3 separate regions of the Homo sapiens genome follow, and regions 1 and 3 are each linked to region 2. The links are contacts of gene promoters, found by promoter capture Hi-C in blood cells and fetal thymus (Javierre and others, 2016). All regions are on one chromosome and are shown on one strand. Each heading gives the region's core, a stretch centred on a gene start or on the middle of the fragment in contact. The rest is flanking DNA. Distances are from core to core; before and after follow the strand shown.

What was found. Contacts are between HindIII fragments. The CHiCAGO score rates a contact against its expected background, and 5 or more counts as called.
Region 1: the fragment with the promoter of VIRMA here is called in contact with the fragment with the promoter of TP53INP1 in region 2 in 2 of 17 cell types (naive CD4 T cells and total CD8 T cells); the score reaches 5.6 in naive CD4 T cells.
Region 3: a contact is called between a fragment that was not itself captured here and the fragment with the promoter of TP53INP1 in region 2, in 1 of 17 cell types (naive B cells). The highest score is 5.3, in naive B cells.

What each region holds. Positions count from the first base shown.
Region 1 is chr8:94,551,715-94,554,916 of GRCh38, reverse strand. VIRMA (vir like m6A methyltransferase associated) reads left to right here and starts at 1,448. Exons shown (of 24, transcript NM_015496.5): 1 at 1,448-1,532. The coding sequence starts at 1,470. It overlaps VIRMA-DT (VIRMA divergent transcript), which reads right to left and starts at 1,204. Exons shown (of 2, transcript NR_183271.1): 1 at 1,010-1,204. RefSeq lists an enhancer at 1,135-1,754. The HindIII fragment of the contact is 4,366 bases long and covers 1-2,382 here.
Region 2 is chr8:94,947,929-94,951,136 of GRCh38, reverse strand. TP53INP1 (tumor protein p53 inducible nuclear protein 1) reads left to right here and starts at 1,759. Exons shown (of 4, transcript NM_033285.4): 1 at 1,759-1,983. It also overlaps a transcript of NDUFAF6 not described here. RefSeq lists enhancers at 904-953, 1,124-1,293, 1,160-1,789, 1,790-2,418 and silencers at 1,414-1,523, 1,604-1,983, 2,204-2,343. The HindIII fragment of the contact is 4,012 bases long and covers 1-3,208 here.
Region 3 is chr8:95,310,123-95,313,422 of GRCh38, reverse strand. All of the region lies in intron 1 of CFAP418-AS1 (CFAP418 antisense RNA 1), which reads right to left. Among named protein-coding and RNA genes, the nearest start is that of TRS-AGA2-5, 42 kb to the right of the region's middle. The HindIII fragment of the contact is 5,785 bases long and covers 1-3,300 here.

The sequences.
Region 1 (3,202 bases), core at 199-2,698, 400 kb after region 2:
TTACCAAGGCATGTGAAGCCTTTCTGTTCTTCTCCATTACATCTCCTTCCAGTTTACCACTATCTTGAAATTTTAGTTACTCCAATACATGACTTTATAATTTCATGACATATGTACACTCCTAAAATTTTATATTCTTTTGCACGTTTTTAAATATATAGATGTTATTTTACACTATATATTTTTTATTTCCTTTTCTAAGAGATGGGTGTCCCCACTGGCCTCCAACTCCTGGGCTTAAGAGATTCTCCTGTCTCAGCTTCCCGAGAAGTTGGGACCACAGGAACACGCCACCGCACCCGGCTTGCGATGAGAGGAGTTAAACTTGTTTTGTTTTGGTTTGTGTCTTTTTTTTTTCTTTTTGTGAATAACGGGGTCTCGCTATATTGCCCAGGCAGTTCTCCAACTCCTGGGCTCAAGCGATCCTCCCGCTTCATCCTCCCTAAGTGCTGGATTACAGGCGTGAGCCAAAGCGCCCACCAACCCTGTTTTTTGGGTTTTTCATGCTAGTAAACATAGCACTGGTTCATTCTTCGTACCTGCTATATACTATTATATAAATACGCCACTATTTACTTATTACTTCTGTCAATGGCACTTATGTTTCCTGCTCTTTTGCAACTTATAAAGTTTGCTATGAATATTCTTGTATTTGTAGATACGTGGGCGAGAATTTTCCTAGAAGAGTGGTAGGCACGTGTAATTTTACAAGCTATTTCCTAGTTGCTCTGCTAAGGGTTTGTGCCATTTAGACTACCAAACCCGCTGAGTTTATCTCGTTGCTCCAAAGCTCATCAACACCCGACAGAGAGGCTTACTTTTCATTCTGCCTCCTGTTTTATTGTTCATGGTACTTCACGTTACACAATTCCTCGAATTTTATTTCAATTACTCCTCACAATCACCCTGTAGGTTAGGTACGATTTTTCACATTTTACAGATAAGAAAACAAAGAATCTCTTCGTTGGTTGAAACAACAGTTTTTCTTCTATTTAAATCAATGTCTTACTTTTCAACCTCGCTCACTGTTATCTTTTTGCTCCCAGCGCTGGAAAAAGTGGGACATCCCCTTCGGTGGGTGTACGGGGTTGGTATCCAAAGTTGGCAGCTTTCCCTCCCCCTCCTCCATCCACCGTCTCCAAAACCCCGTCTCCGCACTTCGCCACCCGGAGACCGCTGTAGCTCTGTAACGCGGAGGAACGACAGGGTTTGAACCACTGGAGACCCCGTAGTCCCCATCTCACTTCCCTCTGCCCCCCCTCTGCGTTCTAGGGGGCGCCCTCCGCCGCGCTGGAAAAGGCGGGGCCGGCAACTCCGGGCAACAAGATGCGTTGGGATAGGCCGAGGTTTGCGGCGCTAGTGCTCTGGTCACCGGAAGTCCCTCTGTTTCTCCCTCTCCTGAGTCGCTGTCGCGGAGGCTGGAGCGCTGCCCCGGAAGTCCTCCCCCCTGTTCCCCGCCCGCGGCAAACATGGCGGTGGACTCGGCGATGGAGCTGTTATTTTTAGATACTTTTAAACACCCGAGCGCTGAGGTAAGGCTTGGCGACTTGATTCTGACGCTGCTTCTTGACTTGGGATCTTTACAAAAAAACCGTTAGGCGTTCTCCACTTTTCCTTCTGCAGATTGCTTCTTTAATTTCTCGCTTACACACAGACACCCTCCCCCGAGCTGTGTGAGCATCGCGTCTGAGGGAGGGCTGCAGCAGCCCCTTCATTTCCTTGCTTTAACTTGGGCCCTCCGTGTCTTTGGTCGAGTTGGCTTTTCTGCTTGCATGGCTTTATTTTTTATTTTTCCTGTCAGGTTTGGGCCTTGAGAAGGATCAGGGTTCTCAGGTTTACCTCAGATGGCGTTTGGGAGGGGTCTTGGTTTGCCAGTAGTGTTTGACAGTAGTGCCGGAGTCTGAGCAGTTTACGTTGGCTTCGTGGTTTCCGAATCACGATGTTTCTAAATCCTTTCTCTTTGGCCTCTTTTCTGTCGGGAATTATGTTCCCCAGTTGTGACACTTACTTGGTTTAGGATTACGGTGCTCTCCGATTTGGCCTGAAACTTTAATACTTGTCTCTCGGAGAGATTTCACACATTAGGAATGAGATGCATTCACGGAGAATACTTGCGAAGAGGGGAGAGTTGAGAGAATTATAGTTAAACTCATCAGCAGACATCTCCTTTGAGGTTGGAGGTGGAATGTTGTGGAGTAATATTTCTGTACAAAACTACTTGAGCGCCCCTTAATGTACAATTGGCCCTGCAATATGTAGATTAAACATAGCTGGTTAACTAAAGATTCCTGAAAGCAGACCAAAAATGAACTTGAATGAAGTCTACGGAGAAATTGTTAAAAAAAAAAACGAACTTCACATTTTTCTGTCTTAATGTAAGCTTAATTTAGAGAACTGTTCTTTCTTTGGAGATTATTTTTTTCCTTTTATTTTTATCAAGTGTGCTCTTGTATCAAGCTTTTTGAGGACAGATATAATTTCTCTTTTTCTCAGCTGTATCTCCAGTGCCTAGGACAGTATTAGCAAAATGTAGGTGCTCAATAAATATTTGAATGGAAAATGTTTAAAATGTTCTTTCTTTTATGAGATAGTAATGATAGTGGGTAGTGATTGTATCATAATGCTTTACTTGGCAAAATAAAAAGTTGACAGCTGTGATCTAATTTAACGAATGGTTTATAGGTTTGTAAAAGTCAAAAGTTGGAGAACTTTGAGTTAGCATTTCTTACTGACAGTTAATTTATGGTCTGACATTTAATGTGGGTCAGTTAGCACTGTTTGTTCAATGACTATATCTAACATTCTAGCCGAGATTTAGAAAACCCTCAATGGAGGCAGTAGTTGGATCAGAACAAACTTATGGTGTATAGAAATAGAGAACAGTTAAAACTGAAAGAGCCTGGCGCAGTGGCTCATGCCTGTAATCTCAACGTTTTGGGAGGCGGAAGCAGAAGGATTGCTTGAGTCCAGGAGTTTGAGACCATCCTAGGCAACACAGTGCAACCCCTGTCTCTACAAAAGAAAATTAACTAGTTGTGGTGGTTTGATCTTGTTGCCCCAGCTACTCGGGAGGCTGAAGTGGAAGGATCATTTGATCCTGGGAGTTCAAGGCTGCAGTGAGCTAAGATCACACCACTGTGCTCCAGCCTGAGCAACAGAGTGAGACCCTGTCTCGAAAGGAAGAAAGAGAAAAAGGAAAAAG
Region 2 (3,208 bases), core at 510-3,009:
AGTACAAAGCAGAAGCTGTGGGGTTTGCTTAATGCTTTTGCTTAATGACGAGGCTTGGAAGTCCTAGAACATTCTTTCTGCCACATTCTATTGGTCAGAGCAATCACAGGGTCAGCCCAGATTCAAAGGGAAGAAAAATACACCCACTTCATGATGGAGATACTGTTGTGGTCATCTTTGGAAAAATGATCTACTTCATATTGAATTTTTCTATCATAACAAGATGATGATTTCACATGTTGCTTTAACCATGATAAACCTTATCAAACTGGAAAAAGGTAGGCCTTTTTCTTTTTAAAAATTAGCCCCTTGTAATTGTCATCATACCTTGGTTCTGAATGTGGAGATGGCCTCTTCAATGGATTCCTAGGGAGAAACAAGAGATCATGGGGCTCCTACCATAGCATGTGGGAGAAAATATTAGAACAAGCCTGATTTGCAAAAACCTAAAATCCAAAGCATGTTCAAGTCTGTGAGACTATCTAGAACACAGTTTTAGCTCTTTCTCCCAAGATAAGGTCCAATGACCATCATATTTTGATCATTACTCCTTGGTGTCTGACAACTCCCTGCACTGCAATTTACATCCTTTAAAACCAGCATTGTTGGAAATGGACTGACTACATTGTGAGGGTCAGAATGTGAGTGTCTTTCAGATACTGTAATGTGTGATAGGCATCCCTCCAGGGTTGCTATACAGCTCACCCCAGGTCAAAGAACTACATCCCAGTCCAAACAGTATCCACATGAGAGCTGATAGGCATCAACGTTACTCACCTGCCTTTGCCAGACAGTTAATCCACCTATATGTGGGACAGAGCCTTGGTCTGGAAAACACTTTCAAGCCCACTGTCTCACTCTCTTGTCACTATAAATAACCTGGTGAGTTGGCAGTCCCGGCGTGAATGCCCACAATTTGCAGGTATGCAAACAGAACAGAGGGGCTAAGTTCCGTGGGTCACATGAGAGCTAGGCTGCAGCGCCTGGGGAGGCGGCCGTTCCCGCCCGGTGCGCTTGTTGTCCGCTGGAGCAGAGGCCCCCGAGCCTGCTGACCTCTCTGCCTTCAGGCCTGGTCTCGCAGTCCCTTGTGCCTCGCCTATAGGCAGGCGGAATCCAGAGCGTGCAGCAAGCCCGGCCGGCTCTCGGTGGCGGTTTCTACAGCAGGTGGGGCCTGGCTCCGTGATTGAGCGGCCTCTACCCCTCTATCTGGGGCCCAGCAGCGGCCCCCTCCCAGCACCCTGGCTACACGTCTAACCCTAGGCTGACCAGGTGGGGCTCTCGGAGGCGTTAGCCCCAGCCCTCCCAGGAGTCTTAATGTTCCTCTCACAGGAAAAAACGTTCTGCGCCCTTTGTGCCCCAAACCCTCGACCCTTCACTCGGCGAGAGGGGTCGCTGAGGGAGAGATCCACCTCTGCCCTTCCCGTTGCCCGCCGGTTCTTCCTCGCCCGCCTCTTACGCACCCCGCTCCCGCCGGCTCCTGGAAAGCCGGCCCCGGCCCCAGCGCTTCCCTCCCCGGCCTAGCCCCTCTCTCCCACCCTTCCGCTCGCCCAGGCCTTCACGCTCAGCTCCCGGTTTTTGTTGCCCGGGCTTGTTTCGGAGCTGAGCGCGCCGCCGGCCGGGCGCCAGGTCACGTGCGTTGGTGACAACCTCTCGCAGGGCGGCCCCGGGGCCCCCGCACCGCCGATTGGTGGGGCCCGGCCTGGCGCGGCCCGGGGCGGGGCAGCGGGGCCCGACGGCGAGCGGAGCGGCCGATCAGCTGTTGCGAGCGCTGCACAACAACAAAAGGACTTGGACTGGCCGGCCTGGGCGCAGCGACCCGAGGGCTGGAGCCGGCCCCGCGCCTGCCGTCTGGGTACCTGAACGAGGTGCAGCGCAGCCCGGCCCCACCGCAGCTACCTCAGCAGTCCCGCCCCGCCCGCGTCCTTCCCCGCCGAGCCGGCGGCCGCTCCCTTCCCCGCGCAGCCCCGCACGGCCCGGGCCCACGTAAGTGCCGGGGGGGGGCGGGCGGGCGTCCGTCCAGGGCCGCCTCGCTGCCGGTTGGGGCCGCAGCGCTGCCCGCTCCTGAGCCCGGCGGGGCCGGCCGCGCGCCCTGCCTTCGGGGCGCCGGTTGCGCGTTCACCGAGCCCCCTCGCTGCCTCCCCTCGCCGCCGCCGGGCCCGGCCGCCCACCCAGTGGGTCGGTCCTCGGCGGCCCCCGGGGCCCAGGGCGCGGACAGAGGCTGACAGAGGCGGCGGCGGCGCGGACAAGGGCCCGGCCTGGCCCCGGCGCTGGGCGGCGGTTGGGAGTTTGGTCTCTGCCTCCTCCCCCGAGCGTGGCTTGTTTTCTTGGCCGCGGCGGGACCTCCTCCTCTCACCCCTCCTCACTCCCCTCCACTCCTCCTCCTCCGCCTGCTCTCGGCCGTTGGATGGGGCCGCCCCTTCGGGACTCGGCGTCGGGGCTCCCGCGGCCACCCCCGGGACGCATCTCCGAAGACAGCGGCGCTTGGGCTTGTGGCCCGGCGCTCTGTCCCCGCCCTGCGATCCCGTCCCCTGCGCCTGCCCTCCGAGTTCCGGAGGCCCTGCGGCTATGGGGAACCTGCTCCGTGACCCGGCCACCGGCCCCCGCCTGTCCGCGGCCTGTCCCTTGCTTGACCTGGCTTGAACTCAGTCTTCGCTACCTGACTTTGCACCTGTGGAAAGAGCGCTCTCCTTGGCCCTTAACATTTAGATCCTTTGGATCGCTCACGCTTACTGAGCGCTGAGTATGTGCCATATACTATGCTGGGGGCTTTGCTTTATCGCCCCAGTTGATTCTCATAATAACCTTATATGAAATAGGCCCGGCTATCTTACACATAGGAAACCCGAGGCACAGAGAGATTAAGTTGCTCAAGGCCACACAGCCAATTAATAAAAGGAAATGGTGTTTGTATTTCAAAGTGGCAGCTGAATTTTACCTGGAGAGTCTGTTTTGCTTGTATTTTCTGATTATATCTGCTCAGTAGGTTAATTCCAATACAGAGTGGATTAAGGAAGAGCCTCTTTACAACTGTGACTCCCAAGGACTTGGGCATCTATTGCTAAAAAAGCCTTTTCTCAATGCACAATAGTTTTGGGAAAAGGGGGAACAATGTGACCCTTGGGGTCACTGAACAGAAGTCATAATGAGTTCCCCCACGATACTGAAATCACCAGCCTGGTAATTGAAATACATTTTCATTTGCAGATGT
Region 3 (3,300 bases), core at 583-3,082, 360 kb before region 2:
GCCAAGTCCAGTGATTGCAGCTCAGCTCAGGCCTTACCCTACTTGACACATCTGTTGCCTCTGCACTGCTGACTGGTCTACCTTGCTTCACATTTCCTCCTCCTTCATGTCCCTGCAGCTCTCTTCTCCTGGTTCTCTTCTTGCTCCCCGTTCTCTTCTTGCTCCCTGGACTCCCCTCTTCTGGCTCCTCTTCCTCAATGTACCCTTAATGCCAATGATCCTGAGATCTGTCTTTGGCTTTTCTCTTATTCTTCCACATATTCTGACAATTTCATCCATACCTGCAGCTTCAAATACTAATTGCACAGAGCCTTATCTTTCTCTTTAATGGAGATACCTTCCCCAAATTCTGGATTCATTTATCAACCTTTATCAACCACCTACTAGATAACATGTTCTCAAAGGCCTTGACTGCCCAGGTTCAAAACTGAACTCGGAATATCCCCATCCACAACCTTGCTTTTGCCCTGGTTCCATGAATGATGCTGCAATCTACCCAGGCATCTGGAAGTCATCAGACCTCCCTTACATCACTGGTCATTAGGTCCTATCATTCTGCCTTCAACATGTCTCACAAGTCCTACCCCACCTTTTCATCCCCACTGTAACATCTCAGGATAAAGCCTCAGCATCCATCTCTCCTGATCACCCTGCCTTCCCATTCCGAACACACCAGAGTAGTCTTTCTAACATTTAATCATGACCCCCTCCCCACCAGCTCAATATCCTTCATATGTCAAACGCTGATGGGATAAAATTCGAACTCCTTTACAAGGCAAATTAGATCTCTGTACCTGCCCCCACCGGAGCTTGTATTGCCCTGAACTGTGCTGTAGCTGCTTGACTGTGTCTATCTCATCATCATATGCCCACTGCTTAGCACGATGCCTGAACATAGGGGCTCAAGAAACTACTAATAAATGAATTAGCAAATACCTAAAATACCTAAAGTTTCCTCACAAAATTTCTCCCTTTATACAATATTTCATTTTTGATAAAATGATATCAGTAAAGATATATTCAATTTTATTTTATCTTAGAGTTTTAAATCAGCTAGTGAGCATCAAATTCAGTGGTTCCGAATCTTGGGTGCACATTAGAATCAGCCGCAGAGATTTTAAGCTGGCTTCCATCCAGACCAATGGAATCAAAATTCAGCCTTTGTATTCACTGTGGCCATTTGAGTGATTTCATTGGAAAAAGAAAATAGAGATAACATTAAAGAGATTCACATCATGCTTGATGCAGAAGATTTTATACATGGTATCTTATTTACTCTTTAAAAGAACCCATGAAGCAAGATTCTCTATTTATTGGGCACTTGAAACACAGAGAGATTAATTTACTTGAATGGGGTCACCCAAGTCGTATGTGGTGGGTCTAGAATTCTAATCCAAAGCTACTTCCAAAGAACATGTACTTCCTTCTGCCTGATAAGCCTCCATGTAGGCAGTGCAAAACGTGTCAGAGGAGGGAGACAGGGAAAGAAGAACAGCATTTGCAGACACTAGATTTGAATGTGGGAACGACCCACAGTTTCAACACCACACAGTCGCCTTGAGTCCAGTGTGGTAAGAGTGAACCATCCATGGGCATACTGGCTTGAAGTTTTACATAAACGTTACCATTTGGCAAACACCTAAGCAATCATTGTTCCAGGCAAGAACTATAGATGCTAAAATGAGAGAATGAATGGGAAAAGGGAGACTTATATAGTCTCAAAGTATCCACCACGGGATATTCTTTTAAAGAGAAAGTAGTAACTTTATAGTGGAGAAGTCTGGCAGACCCCGCCTTAACTGACTGAGCAAAGTTTCATTTGAGTAATAAGACAAATTGAGATTATGCACCTCCTGACATAACATGCTGAGAAAGCCACAGCATCTCGTCCATGGCCCGCTTGCCAAAGATGCACAACTTTAAGTATGAAGAAACATCAGATAAACCCAAATTAGGAGAAAATCTACCAAATAATTTCAAAAAGGGTAAGAGAGACCACAGAACTGTTCCATATTAAAGAAAACTAAGAAAATATAGCTAAATGCAAATGTGTAGTCCTAAATTAGATACCGCCCAGAAAAAGGTCATTAGTAAGACAGTGTGTGAAATCTGGATAAAGTATGCAGATTAAGTAGTATTATAGTAATGTTAATTTCCTGCTTTTTATTATTATATTGTGGTTATACAATAAATCAATATTTTGGGAATTTGGATGAAGGGTATGTGGAACTTCAAACTATTTTTGCAGCCATGTTGAAAAATTTTAGACTTATAAAATTTAAAAGTTTTTAAAAATTAAAAAGTGAAAATGTGTGACAAAGTTATGAGACTGGATTTCATCCATGAATCTGAAGACAATTCTAAAAGCAGTACCAAATTATTTTGAGTGTTATGCGTGGCACTTGCCTCTCAAGATACTTTTTAATGAGACAGGGTTATTTTGCATGCATAAAATGTCACACTTGTTACATTACCAGTCTCATTTCATTAAAATTCTATACTTAAACCTCTATAGAATGTTTCTCACTATCCACTTCACCAGATGTCATTTGACACGTAAGAATCTGAGTGACTCCCACAGCTCACAAGGCCATAAACAGCAGAGACGGAACTGGAAGCAGGTGTCTGCTCCAGCTTCAGGGCTCCTTCCACACTGAGCTACACTGCCTTGCAGATCTTCTAAAGTTCACCCAAGACCCACAATTCAAGAAGTCAGAGAGACCAAAGAAGCTGAAGTCGAGGGAAAGCATGATAGACTCCATATCTATGAATTACTATACTGCAAGGTTCATAAACATCTCTCTCTCAAGTTAACGTTATAAAGTATATTCATTAAATATTTTACCTTTTGGGTTGGGGGGAAGCTAATCTGTCCTTTCTCCCGAGACCTTTAATAATAGTGATAAGAATAGTTAACATTTGTTGAGCAATTACTATTGCCAGTTATTGTTCCAAGTTCTTTTTTTTTTTTTTTTTTTTTGAGATGGAGTTGCGCTCTGTCGCCCAGGCTGGAGTGCAGTGGCGCGATCTCGGCTCACTGCAAGCTCCACCTCCTGGGTTCACGCCATTCTCCTGCCTCAGTCTCCCGAGCAGCTGGGACTACAGGCACCCATCACCATGCCCAGCTAATTTTTTGCAATTTTTTTTTTTTTTTTTTTTTTTTAGTAGAGACAGGGTTTCACCATAGCCAGGATGGTCTCGATCTCCTGACCTCGTGATCCACCCGCCTCAGCCTCCCAAAGTGCTGGGATTACAGGCGTGATTTAATCCCAGAAACAACCCTGTGTTGTAGATGTATTA